Regions from separate parts of the Homo sapiens genome. Here region 1 is linked to region 2. Evidence: promoter capture Hi-C in human tissues and cell types (Jung and others, 2019). All regions are on one chromosome and are shown on one strand. The core of a region is centred on a gene start or on the middle of the fragment in contact, and the rest is flanking DNA. Distances in the headings are between cores, read along the strand shown. Region 1 overlaps SYT14 (synaptotagmin 14). Region 2 holds the start of HHAT (hedgehog acyltransferase).

Region 1 (6,500 bases), core at 1,854-4,353, 150 kb after region 2:
AGGCACAAGAAGCCTAAGGAGACATATAAATAAACGCAGTGTGAGATCCTAAACAGGATCCTGGAACAGCAATAGGGCATTAGATAGGCAAGGAGAGGTGACTAAGAAAATCTGATTAAACCAGGGATTTCATTTAATTATAATGAAGCAAATTGGATATTAGTTGTAAAAAATGTACCAGTGTAAGATGTTATTAATAGGGGGATCTGGGTGCATGGTGTATGGGAACTCTCTGTAGTATCATCTGAATTTTTCTGTAAATCTACAACTGTTCTAAAATGAAGTTTATTGAAAAAAAAAGCTTGGTGTCAGCTTAGTATTGTTTCCCTATTAACAGTTATAGCAATGTCAGAAATAGAGGTTTTTTAAAAAATCAATTAATGAGCCAGAAATCACAGAGGAAATGGGGTTTCATAAATCAACTTCTTTTTGTTGAACAAGTATTCTTTTCATCTCAGGTATTATTGAATATATTTCTCAAGTGTATTTGTATATTTTTATTGCTTTGGAAAATAATGCACATTAAATATAATCTAACCATTCTTGGCTGATTCTATTCAATTAAAACAAATAGCTGCCTAAAAAGACACCCCCCAAAAAAAACTCTCAAGCCCCCTCAAACTTCCCAATGTCCCAAACTCCATCAGAAATAAAGATTCATTAATACTCATTCATTTTATGCCCTAGATACTGTTCAGGCATGGGGCACACAGTTGTGAAAAGTTTCTGCCATTGGGGAACGTATATTCTAATGAGAGGATGTCAGCTCTTGATTCCTGTGACTTGGTCATTCCAGTGCTTTGCATGACTCCTCACTGAATTGGTCATCAATTCTCAGAACGCTTCCTTTTCAATGTCTCTCTCACTCATCTCATTAAAGAAAAAAAATTCTCTATTCACATGATCTAGGTTACTAGTATTACCTTATATCTAATCACTTATGATTTTAAACATCTGGTTTTAAAAAAATAGCTTCCGGCCAGGCGCGGTGGCTCACACCCATAATCTTAGCACTTTGGGAAGCCGAGGCAGGTGGATCACCTGAGGTCAGGAGTTTGAGACCAGCCTGGCCAACGTGCTGAAACCCCGTCTCTACTAAAAATACAAAAATTAGCCAGGCGTGGTGGCGGGCACCTGTCATCTCAGCTACTTGGGAGGCTCAGGCAGGAGAATCACTTGAACCCACGAGGCAGAGGTTGCATTGAGCTGAGATTGTGCCACTGCACTCCAGCCCGGCGACAGAGTGAGACCCCATCTTAAAAAAAAAAAAAGCTTCCAATGGATCTCTTTCTGATTCTTACCCCTATTAAACTGGCCTTCTTAAAATTACTCTTCTACTCTAAACCTTATGGGGTTAACTATTCAAGTCTCTAGTCTGGATTCAAGGGATTTGACAATCTGGTTTTCATTTGCCCCTCATGACATTTCTGGTGTCCTTGCCTTAACTCTGGTCACTGCTTGGGTTCTTTCTCTCTTCACCCTACAAATGTGTTCCTCCAACATTCTTATTGCTTCAGTTATGTCTGTAGGTTTGATGCTCAGGTTTTAGTTGTTCCTCTGGCTTTCTACCTATCACTTCATTTCATCCCTTGGGTCACAGTTAAACTCATTTCTTGTAGTTTGATGAAGTTGGAGAGTTAGGCATTTTGAATCTCTCCAAAAGCCTTACAATCCATTCCTAAAATAACTCCTTCCAGTACTGCTGGCAGGCAGTGTTCTGGAGACTTATCTTACTCTTTGATTTTTGCCCCCAACAATTAGGTGTTAGACCTTGCCTTTCCAAATATTGTTTGGAACTTCTGTTTTTTTGCTACAGTGCTATCTAGCATTTTCCTCAGTTACTATGAGTTTACTTATCAGTGTATGCTAGTGCTGCAGGGATAAAATAGACCCCAAATGAATAACAGCTCAAATACACAGTGGAAGTTTTTCTTTCTCATGTAACACTCTGAAGATATTACTGGTTGATGGGTGATGACCTCCAAGCAGTGAATCAAGGACCCAGGCTCCTTTCATCTGTGGCTTCACCATCCCTTAGTATATTAGCCATCTTCTGTAACCAGCTAATGCATGGGGAGAGAGACCATGGAGGCACTGGGCCTAGAAATGGTACATACCACTTCCACTCACATTCCAGTTGGCTAGGACTCAGTCCCATAACCACAGATACTTGCAAGAGAGGCTGGGAAATGTAGTCTAGCATGCGTCCAGGAAGAGAACAAAGGTTTAGTTAAATAGCTTACTTTCTCCCTAAAGAAGACCACCTAAAGTCCCATCCAGTTATTGCAGTCTTCTCCAAGTCCTCTATCTCTGGTGATACACTCTCCTTTCCATCAAGTCCAATGACCTGGGAATTTAAAGATATCTGCCCCTCCAACTTCCACTAAATACATAATGCAGAGCAGGAAGAAGATAACTGCCATTAAAAATTCCCATTTGAAAAAGGGACGAATGAGAAACATAGCAGTCATTGATTCACAGCAGTGAAACCCCGGCCCCCAATTCTCTCAGCAGAGGCAGTTTTTAAATGTTTATTTCTGTTTCCTGTTTTTTTTAGAGACAGGGTCTTGCTCTGCCAACCAGGCCAGAGCGCAAGAGTGCAGTGATATGAGCATAGCTCACTGCAGCTTCGAACTCCTGGGTTCAAATGATCCTCCCACCTCAACCTCCTGAGTAGCTGGGACTATAGGCGTGTGCCACCACGCCCGACTTATTTATTTATTGGTAGAGATTGGGTCTCCCTTTGTTGGCCAGGCTAGTCTCTAACTCCTGGCATCCCTCTGCCCCACCCTCCCAAAGTGTTGGGATTATAGGCGTGAGCTGCCACGCCTGGCCTAGGGGCAGTTTTTTGTTTGGCTCCATCTATTTTCTAAGAGGAACTCTGTTATTCATTATTCTCAGTGATCCCCTGCTCTGACTTCTGAGGAGTCCGAAGACTGTTACATGCTATGGTTTCATTTGAAGCAGATATTGAGAACTGTTTCCTTCTTGGAGGCCACACAACTTTCATAGCTTGCTTCATGAGGATGAAAGTTGGCCTGGAGTTCCTCTGAAACAGGAGGGAACACTAAAACAATTCTGATATTTGCCATGAGGTTGAGTCCCTGTGTTTGGTTGAGCAGTCTCAATGGGCTTTTCTTATTCAACACTTTTTTCAATTTTCTATCTTAATACTTGGGAATCCAGAAGCAGCAGACTTTTCCAACCCCAAGGCAGTTAATCTCAGGGCTCTTTTCCATTCCCTTCAATCTCTCCGTGAGAGCCACAGAACTCCTGCCTGAGTTTACTGCTTTCTCATAATACATTTTAGCAAGGAAAATCTCAAATGCACCGCTACTCTGGCTCTTTCCATCCATTTCCCCTGAACTACACTTTCGGTAGTTGCACTGACCACCTTCAATATACAGGCAACTGGTTATCCGTGCTTTGCCACTGCAAAATACGGCTACAGGTTTCCAGGCTGCTATATCTATTTCCTCACCACTGGCTGCCTGCCTGCTAAGTTAATGTAGAATATTTCAGGTTTTCATTCTCACAGAACTCCACTGGAAGGTATCAATAGTTTTTTAGTTTCGGTTGTTTATAGTAACAAATGTACTCCAAAATAAGTAATGGCTCAAAAATAATAGAAGTTTTTTTTTCCTTATTATGCTGTCATTCCAAGGTATACATACCTGGTTGTCTGTTTTCTGTGAGGTGACTCAGTGACCCAGAATCTCTCCAACTTGGGGCTTTGCCATTCCTGAAAGCTTTCAGTTTTCTCTGTGTCCAGCCAGTGGAAAGTGAAAGAATGCACGGAAAAGGCATATTTGATTCCTTTTTTTTTTTTTTTTTTTTTTTGAGACAGGAACGCCCTTTGTTGCCTAGGCTGGAGTGCAATGGCACAATCTCGGCTCATTGCAACCTCCACATCCTGGGTTCAAATGATCCTCCTGCCTCAGCCTCCCACGTAACTGGGGCTACAGGTATATGCCACCATGCCTGGCCATATTTGATTCTTAAAAAGCCTCCTGGGCTGGGCGTGGTGGCTCACACCTGTAATCCCAACACTTTGGGAGGCCAACGCAGGTGGACGGTTTGAGCCCCTGAGGTCAGGACCAGCCTGGGCACCATAGTGAGACCCTGTCTCTACAAAAAATAAAAATATTAGCCGAGTGTGGTGGCATGCACCTGTAGTCCCAGCTACTGGGGAGGTTGAGGTGGGACGATTGCTTGAGTTTGGGACATCAAAGCTGTAGTGAGCTGTGATTGTGCCACTGCACCCCAGCCTGGGCAAAAGAGCAAGACTCTGTCTCAAAAAATAAAACCTCCTAGAAATTGGACATCATCTCTGGTTGTATTCAGTTGGCTAGAACTCAGTCACATGGCCATGCCTAATCTCAAGGCAAGACATTAGAAATAGTAAGCTAGCCATATGAACAAGAAAGAGAAATACATGGGTTCTGGTGAAGAATTGGCAGTTGCTACCACATATTAAAAGTATTCTTTGGAAGGTTTTCCTTTAGATATATTTTCTTTATGCTGAGTAGATGTTTTCATTTTTTCTCTTACTAATCAATATAAGTTTATGAGATCCTCACATAATTTGCCCCATTTATTTGGCACTTAATTTCATAAAAATATGTAGTGTATTTTTATAATTCATTGTAAATTACTAATAAAATATCCCATATATACCTTTACTGAGACCATTTATTTTAAAATTGGGAATGACTTTATTTTCAAATGGGAAATATCATGAAATATTTTGATAATCTATGGAAAGAAAAAGTTGGCTTAAATATTATTTTGCATATTGGAGATCAAAGGAGTTACAATCAATTTGCAATTAAAATATAATGGTTGGTGAGGTTTTGGTTTAAAAAAGAGAAAAACAAACAAAAAACATACCTTAAATATAGTAACCTGTTATAATGAATAACTACTAAATCCATTTATAACAATAGAAAATGATAATTTCATGATTTATTAGCAAGAATGCAGATGTGCCAATTTTTTTGCTGGAATTTCACTTTATATTAATTGTAATTCTCTGAAAGACCCAAATGAAAATAAAGTTTTTCAAAGTATTAAATAATAAATTGTCCCTAAGTAAGACATTTCTTACAATTCAGAAAACAAATTTTGTCAACACTCAAGCAAATCTGTTACTTTTGGCTTTTTTAACCTTAAATGTCTTTTTTTTTTTTTTTTTTTTTGAGACAGAGTCTTGCTTTGTCACCCAGGCTGCAGTGCAGTGGCGCGATCTTGGCTCACTGCAACCTCCGCCTGCCAGGTTCAAGCGATTCTCCTGCCTCAGCCTCCAGAGTAGCTGGGACTACAAGCATGCACCACCACGCCCGATGAATTTTTTGTGTTTATTTAGTAGAGATGGGGCTTCACCATGTTGGCCAGGCTGATCTTGAACTCCTGACCTTGTGATCTGCCCGTCTCAGCCTCCCAAAGTGCTGGGATTACAGGCATGAGCCACTGTGCCCAGCCTAAATGTCTTAATAATAGAAGCTCAAAATGTTTGAGAGCGGGGGAATAATTCAGCAGTGAGTACTGGGAAAGGATACAAATTCCTTAAATTGTAGACTGGAGATTACATTATGAACCCATTTATTCTGAGCAGAAGAAGTGTTTCATGTTTTCATTATATTTCAGTAGAGACAACTTTACAAAAAGGAAAAAAAAAAACCCAGACCAATTGGGCACTGGCATTCCCCTCTTTAAAAATGTTAACTAAAAAAGGCTCTGGATAATTTATGGAACTAAGGATTCAAAGACAATCAGAGATTAGATGATGCAGCAACTTTAATTTCTTTCAGTTTTAGAGCACCAAACGTTTAAATTCTTTTTCATATGCAAAATAGTACTTGTTAAGTCTGTTGTTATAAATCTTTGTTGCTGGAAGTAAAATGGACAAGGTAATGAAATATGAAAAATATCTAAACTCCAGGTCTTAGGGAAACAATACAACTAGCTAATGAAAAAGAATTAAAAATCAACAAACTACTATTGGCAAAGAGAAAATTATTTTGTTAAACAGGATAGCAATACTGATATGAATGACAACAAATTCACATTAAGTGAAAGAACAAACTAGGTAACAGTTCATATTCCAGCTGAAGATACTGAGATCATTTTAAAGCTATTTAGTTTAATTTGTGATTTATATGAACTTTAAAGGAGAATATTTTTAAATGTTTGCATTTGTAAGTCTATTTTCTTTGGAAGCCAGATTTGACTTACAATTAAAGAAAATAATATGACCCAAACCTTTTGAGAGTAATATTTTATAGCACATTTAGATGAGATTCCTTTCAAACCCAAGATCTAAATAACATGTACATATATCCATTTGATATTTCCTTATGTAATTGACATTATTTTATTTTGTGTAACAGTCATATTAACATTTATTTGTCAATGACAAGAATTAGGACTGATGTTTATGTATCATCATCAATGAAGTCAGATGTTTACCCATTCCATGTGAGTACTAAAACGTAAACAGA
Region 2 (6,169 bases), core at 1,654-4,153:
AGGGGAGAACTGTGTTCAAGTCGGCAGATAAGTGGCTGCACTCAAAACCAAACTGGAATTATTGCGGCGACAAGTGAACACTGGGATTTCTGACACGTTTCAAACATTAGCAGAGATTTTGAAAGAGACTAAGCCAGGGCCTTCTCTCTCCCAGCTGGTGCATGATCACCTATCTCAGCTTTCAAAAGAGTTTGAGCATTACTTCCCAACTACAAAAGACACCCGAACTGGGAAGGATCCTAGATCCATTTGTGAATAAGCCAGGTGAATTGACTTTGTCCATGCTAGAAGAGGACCAACTGTTTGAGATAGCAAATGACCGGGCCCTAGAAGTATGTTTAAGACAACTTCAAATATCCATACATTCTGGATTAAAGTCAAGGCAAAGTATCCTGAAATTGCCACAAAAGCACCGAAAAGCCTGCTTCCATTTCCAACATCCTATCTTTGTGAAGCAGGGTCTTCTGCAGTGACAGCAACCAAAATGAGACTATGAAGTAGGCTGGACATAAGCAAACACACTTTGGGTGTCAATGTCTACCAACACACCCCCCCAGATGGGACTGCCTAGTTGCAGAAAAACAAGCTCAGGGGTCCCACTGATTCTACTCTATGGTGAGTTGTATTCATATTACAATGTAATAATAATAGAAATAAAGTCCACAATAAATGTAATGCAGGTGGGGCATGGTGATTCACACCTGTAATCCCAGCACTTTGGGAGGCCAAGGAGAGGATGGCTTGAGCTCAGGAGTTCGAGCTCAGGAATTTGAGACCAGCCTGGTTGACATGGTGAAATCCTGTCTCTACTAAAAATACAAAAATTAGCCAGATGTGGTGTCGCATGCCTGTAAGCTACTCCGGAGGCTGAGGCACGAGAATTGCTTGATCCCCAGAGGTGGAGGTTGCAGTGAGCCAGTATCGTGCCACTGCACTCCAGCCTGGGTGACCCAGCGAGACTCTTGTCTCAAAACAAATAAATAAAATAAATGTAACGTGCTTGAATTATCCCAACACCATCCCCCTTCCCCCAGTCCATGAAAAACTTATTGTCCATGAAACCGGTCCTTGGTGCCAAAAAGGTTGGGGACCACTGCTTTAGGGAACATTCCCCCTGGGCCAGGTCCTAAGCTGGAAGCAGGGGGTGCAGGTAAGGCCCATGCTCGCAAGTTCCTGATGCTACCTACAGAGCTCCCACCAACATCTGGCCACCCACAAAAACGGCTGCTCCCTCCAAAGAATTGACTTTCACCCTAAGTTCATCCATCTAACCTACTTCCAAGGAGGGGGCAAAGTAAACAGTAGATAAAGCACAGGCGTTGATCCAAAAGAGGAGTCCAAAACCCGGCCCTGACATGTACTAGTTTGTGGCTTTGGCTCCCCTCCAAGGCTTTCTCTATCCTACTGTGAAAAGAGATAACAACACTTATCTTTCCCAGTTACTGTAAGGTTTAGAAATAATGTATCTAAAGCACCTAATAAGCACACAGTCTCCTTAAATTAACATTAATTGAATCTCTCAGGTCAGAGCTGTCCTTATCAAACAATCACAATTAGGGACTGACTGGCAACGAGAAAGGAGGGAGAAAAATCACAGGGAAAATGGAACATGAGGAATGGAAGGGGAAAAAAATCATTCCTCAAAGTCTCCTTCAATGAACTACCGCCTCTTCAATGAAGCCTTCCCTCTCCTCTCCTTGCATTCCCATAGCACTTAATCACATTGAAATAGGTCCTTAGCTCTGAGAATGAATGAGATGCCAGGCACGGTGGCTCACGCCTGTAATCCCAGCACTTTGGGAGGTCGAGGTGGGCAGATCACCCGAGGTCAGGAATTCGAGACCAGCCTGGCCAACACGGTGAGACCCTCGTCTCTACTAAAAATACAAAATTAGGTGGGCGTGGTGGCGCATGCCTGTAATCCCAGCTACTCAGGAGGCAAGGCTGGAGAATCGCTTGAAACCGGGATGCTGAGGTTGCAGTGAGCTGAGATTGTGCCATTGCACTCCAGCCTGGGCGACCAGAGCGAAACTCCGCCTCAAAAACACAAACAACAACAAAAACAGAAAGAGAAGCAATGTCTCACTCCCACGTAATGCAAACCTCTGAGGATGCCAAATGCCCTAGCCCTACAACCCTGATCCAAGAGCAATGTACACAGGTAGCAGCACATTTCTTAACACCAATGCTACCCGTAAAGTACCTCTGGTGAGGATTAGCGGGAGGGTTTTTCCGCATAAAGACCTGCCACCTGAAGGTTAGACTCAGAACAGAGGAAGAAAACTGAGTCCTGAAGATAGAACGCAAAGGAAGTCTCTAACTTTAGAGTCCCTGGAGTCACAGCAGGCAGGCAGGCGCACCGCCGATACTGCCAAGAGGACCAGAGTTCGCAACTCCCCGCAGCAGTTCCGGAAGCTGGGGACGAAGCCAAGGAGAGAGGACGTGGGCAGGGCCGTGCGCGGACTTGTCCCGGCGCCTAGATCCCCGCCTTTGCCCGGGCGCACTGCGCGCGCGGCCCCCGCCGCTTTTGTCTTCTTCGCCCGACCGGGAACTTCCTCTGTCCCGCCCTCGGGCGCGCACACGGGAACTTGGGTAGGAAACGGAAAGCGTTTTGTGCATTTTTTTTTTAACAGAGTAAACTGACGCAGAAAATTCAGCATCTAACCTCCCCAGGACCCCCTATGGTCACCAGTTACCAACCTCCGGGCTGTCCCGGGCGGCGGCGACGGCAACGTTCACGCGCGCCGCGAGTTCCCAACACCCCTCTTTCGGCACTTCCGAGTCCCAGCGACATCGGCGGCGGCTGCGGGCTTCCCCGGGACGCCACCCTCTTTCCCCCGGAGCTGCCCTTTGGAGGAGCAGCGCAGCGCGCGTCCTCCGAGCACGCCCCTGCCGCCGTGCCCGCGCGCCCTCCGCGCCCGGACTCGGGAACCCGCGGCGCTCTCCGGGCGATGGCGAGCAGGCCGTGCTGCTGCAGGGGGCGGGCCAGAGCGCGGCCTGCGTTTCTGAACCGCGTTTGCCCCGCCGGCGGCCCGGGGCCCCTAGCCCCGCTCACCCCTCGGCTGTTGGTTCCCACTGACCCTGGCGTGCATATCTCTCCCCCACCCGTGTGTTCATTGCAGGTCTGGGGCTGCCTGCAAGTTAATTGCAGAGTGGAAGTCACCTGAAACTCGAGGTGGGCCGTCATTCCAACACCAGTGGTCCCCACCTACGTTTTGTAGGCGAAAGGAGGTAGTTCGGTGCGGTGGAAAGAGGGTGGGCTTTGCAGCCCTGGCAGCTTCGAGGGCTTACTGTGTGAACTTAGCCCCTGTGAGCCTCCCTGTACACCTCTGTAAAACAGAAATAGACTTCCCTGCTTTTCTTTGTAAATTAGAGTGAAGATCAAATAGAATAAACTTTATGAATTGTAAAGCAACTTACAGAGATCACTACTGCAAAATGGGTACGAAGATTTTGATTGCGTTGTGAAAAGAGTGGAAGATCTGAAGATGCTCCAACGGGGTATAATTGGGACGATGTTGCTGCTCGGAGGCCTCCAAGCCTGAGCCAAGAGACAGGCTTGCCAGAGTTCTCCAGACTTATCTCAGCAGAATCACGTGGCTCTCATTAAAACCTCGGGCTTCTGGATCCCTCCCCAAACCAAAAGCATCAGACTGTCCATGGCAGGGGCGTCTCAGGTGGTTCTATGATAAGGTGAAGGTGGATAACTCTGCCCTAGGCAGCAGGGAAACTCGGAAGCTGTGCTCTCAGAAATTTCATCTAGCAGTCATTGTAATGGTCGAGAGGATTATTTTAATGATTTTAGAATTCTCCAGGAAACCAGAGTATGAACTCTCCAAGAGCTGGAGCTATCTTTTCTTTCTGCTTCCCCCCAACCCACTCACCCCAAAACCTGGTACTGGATGGTGTTCAGTAAGCAGGTGTTAGTAAACTAGCCCCAAATAGGAGTGCCAGATTTAGCAAATAAAAATACAGCATACTCAATTAAAATTGAATTTCAGGCTGGGCGCGGTGGCCCACGCCTGTAATCTCAGCACTTTAGGAGCGGTAGCAGGAGGATCACTTGAGGCCAGGAGTTTGAGACCAGCCTGGCCAACATGGTGAGACCCCGTCTCTACTAAAAATACAAAAATTAGCCGGGTGTGGTGGCCTGCACCTGTAATCCCAGCCACTTGGGAGGCTGAGGCACGAGAATCGCTTGAACCCGGGCGGCAGAGGTTGCAGTGAGCTCAGATCGCACCACTGCACTCCAACCTGGGTGACTGAGCCGGACTCTGTCTCAAAAAAATAAGTAAATAATTTCAGGTGAACAATATGTAACTTTTTAGTATCACTATGACCCATGCAATATTTGGGATATACTTATTTTTTTTAAGTACTTACAGGAAGCTTGTAATCCCAGCACTTTGGGAGGTCGAGGTGAGTAGATAACTTGAATCCAGGAGTTCGAGACCAGCCTGGCCAACATGATGAAACTCCATCTCTACCAAAAAAAAAAAAAAAAAATGGTATATCTGAAATTCAAATTTACATCCTGGGTATCTGAAAATCAAACTTAACTGGGTATTTTATCTGTCAACTCTAGATCCAAGGGTTTGGCAGAGGGAGTGGCAGAATAAGAACTCAACTCAGGTAGTGTCAAACTCAGGGACAGGGATGTGATAACAGCTCCTATATTATTTCTAAAAGATGCTGTTGTTAATATAGGTTCAGTGTGATTTACACTTAACCCCTGTCTACATATGCACTTTAAATTCACCGGCGAACACAAAGGAGATAAAGGCAGATTTAAACACAGGCAATCAGAAACATCAAATAAAAATAGCCAAAATTTATGTGTGTGTGTATATATATATATATATATATATATATATATATGTATGTATTAGAGACAGTCTCACTGTGTCACCCAGGCTAAGCACAGTGGCATGATCTCAGCTCACTGCAGATTCAAGCAATTCTTGTGCCTTAGCCACCTGAGTGGCTGGGATTACAGGCAAGCACCAGCCACCACACCTGGCTATTTAGTAGAGACAGGGTTTTGCCTTGTTGGCCAGGCTGGTCTCGAACTCCTGGCCTCAAGTGATGCACCTGCCTCAGCCTCCCAAAGTGCTGGGATTACAGGTGTGAGCCACCATGCTTGGCCATAATAGCCAAAATTTAAAGATAAGCAATAGACTGGGATATTTGCAAGAAATTTGCAAAGTGTTAATTTTAAAATTATATATAGAGTTAATACAATCAATAAGAAAACATTAGAAATCAATTATAGATGAGCAAGACACATTTATAGACAACCCACTAGAAAAAGGAGGAGGGAAATAAAAGTAGGAAACAAAAATATATTGCAAAAAGCTCAATGAAATGCATAGTAAAACAAGAACATGGTGGCTCACGCCTGTAATCCCAGCACTTTGGGAGGCCAAGGTGGGTGGATCACGAAGTCAGGAGATCAAGACCATCCTGGCTAACGTGGTGAAACCCCGTCTCTACTAAAAATACAAAAACAAAATTAGCCAGGCATCGTGGCGGGTGTCTGTAGTCCCAGCTACTCGGGAGGCTGAGGCAGGAGAATGGCGTGAACCCGGGAGGCAGAGGTTGCAGTGAGCCGAGATCGTGCCACTGCACTCCAGCCTGGGTGACTGAGCAAGACCCCGTCTCAAAAAAAAAAAAAAAAAAAAAAAAAACAAGAACACACAATTTTCACACATTAAGTTGGCAAAAAATTAATAAATAACATTACAGCCTGGCATGGGTGCTATGTGATAGCACTCACACACAATGTTTAGTTGGGTAAGCAATTTGGCAGTATGAAAACTTAAAATTTATCAAAATCTAAGGGAGGTGGGGCAAGATGCCAAATAGAAGCTTCCACCAATTGTCCTCCCTTCAAGAACAACAAAATGAACAACTATCAACAAAAAACACCTTAATAAGAACCAAAGATCAAGTGGGCCATTGCAGTACCAAGTTTTAACTTCATATCACTGAAAGAGGCACTGAAAAGCGTAGAGAAGACAGTCTTGAATTGCAGACGCTACCCCTCCCTCATCCTACAGCAGCAGCTGGGGAAAGATTCTCTCAGATCTTATGCAAGACCACTAAGGTGGTACCTCTGAGTCTGCAAGAGCCGTAGCATTCCTGAGCTTGAGGTGCCCTCTAATGCAGA

The links. The method cuts DNA at HindIII sites, captures the fragments that hold promoters and counts their contacts. A contact is called where the count stands out against the background at its distance.
Region 1: a fragment that was not itself captured here is called in contact with the fragment with the promoter of HHAT in region 2 in 1 of the 25 tissues and cell types used here (bladder).

Annotation. Positions count from the first base shown.
Region 1 is chr1:210,170,594-210,177,093 of GRCh38, reverse strand. SYT14 (synaptotagmin 14) reads right to left here. Exons shown (of 9, transcript NM_001146262.4): 9 at 5,779-6,500. Among named protein-coding and RNA genes, the nearest start is that of SERTAD4, 59 kb to the left of the region's middle. The HindIII fragment of the contact is 4,632 bases long and covers 788-5,419 here.
Region 2 is chr1:210,325,636-210,331,804 of GRCh38, reverse strand. It overlaps HHAT (hedgehog acyltransferase), which reads right to left and starts at 2,903. Exons shown (of 12, transcript NM_018194.6): 1 at 2,701-2,903. RefSeq lists enhancers at 1,045-1,214, 2,327-2,686, 3,561-3,730 and a silencer at 2,847-3,096. The HindIII fragment of the contact is 7,053 bases long and covers 1-5,128 here.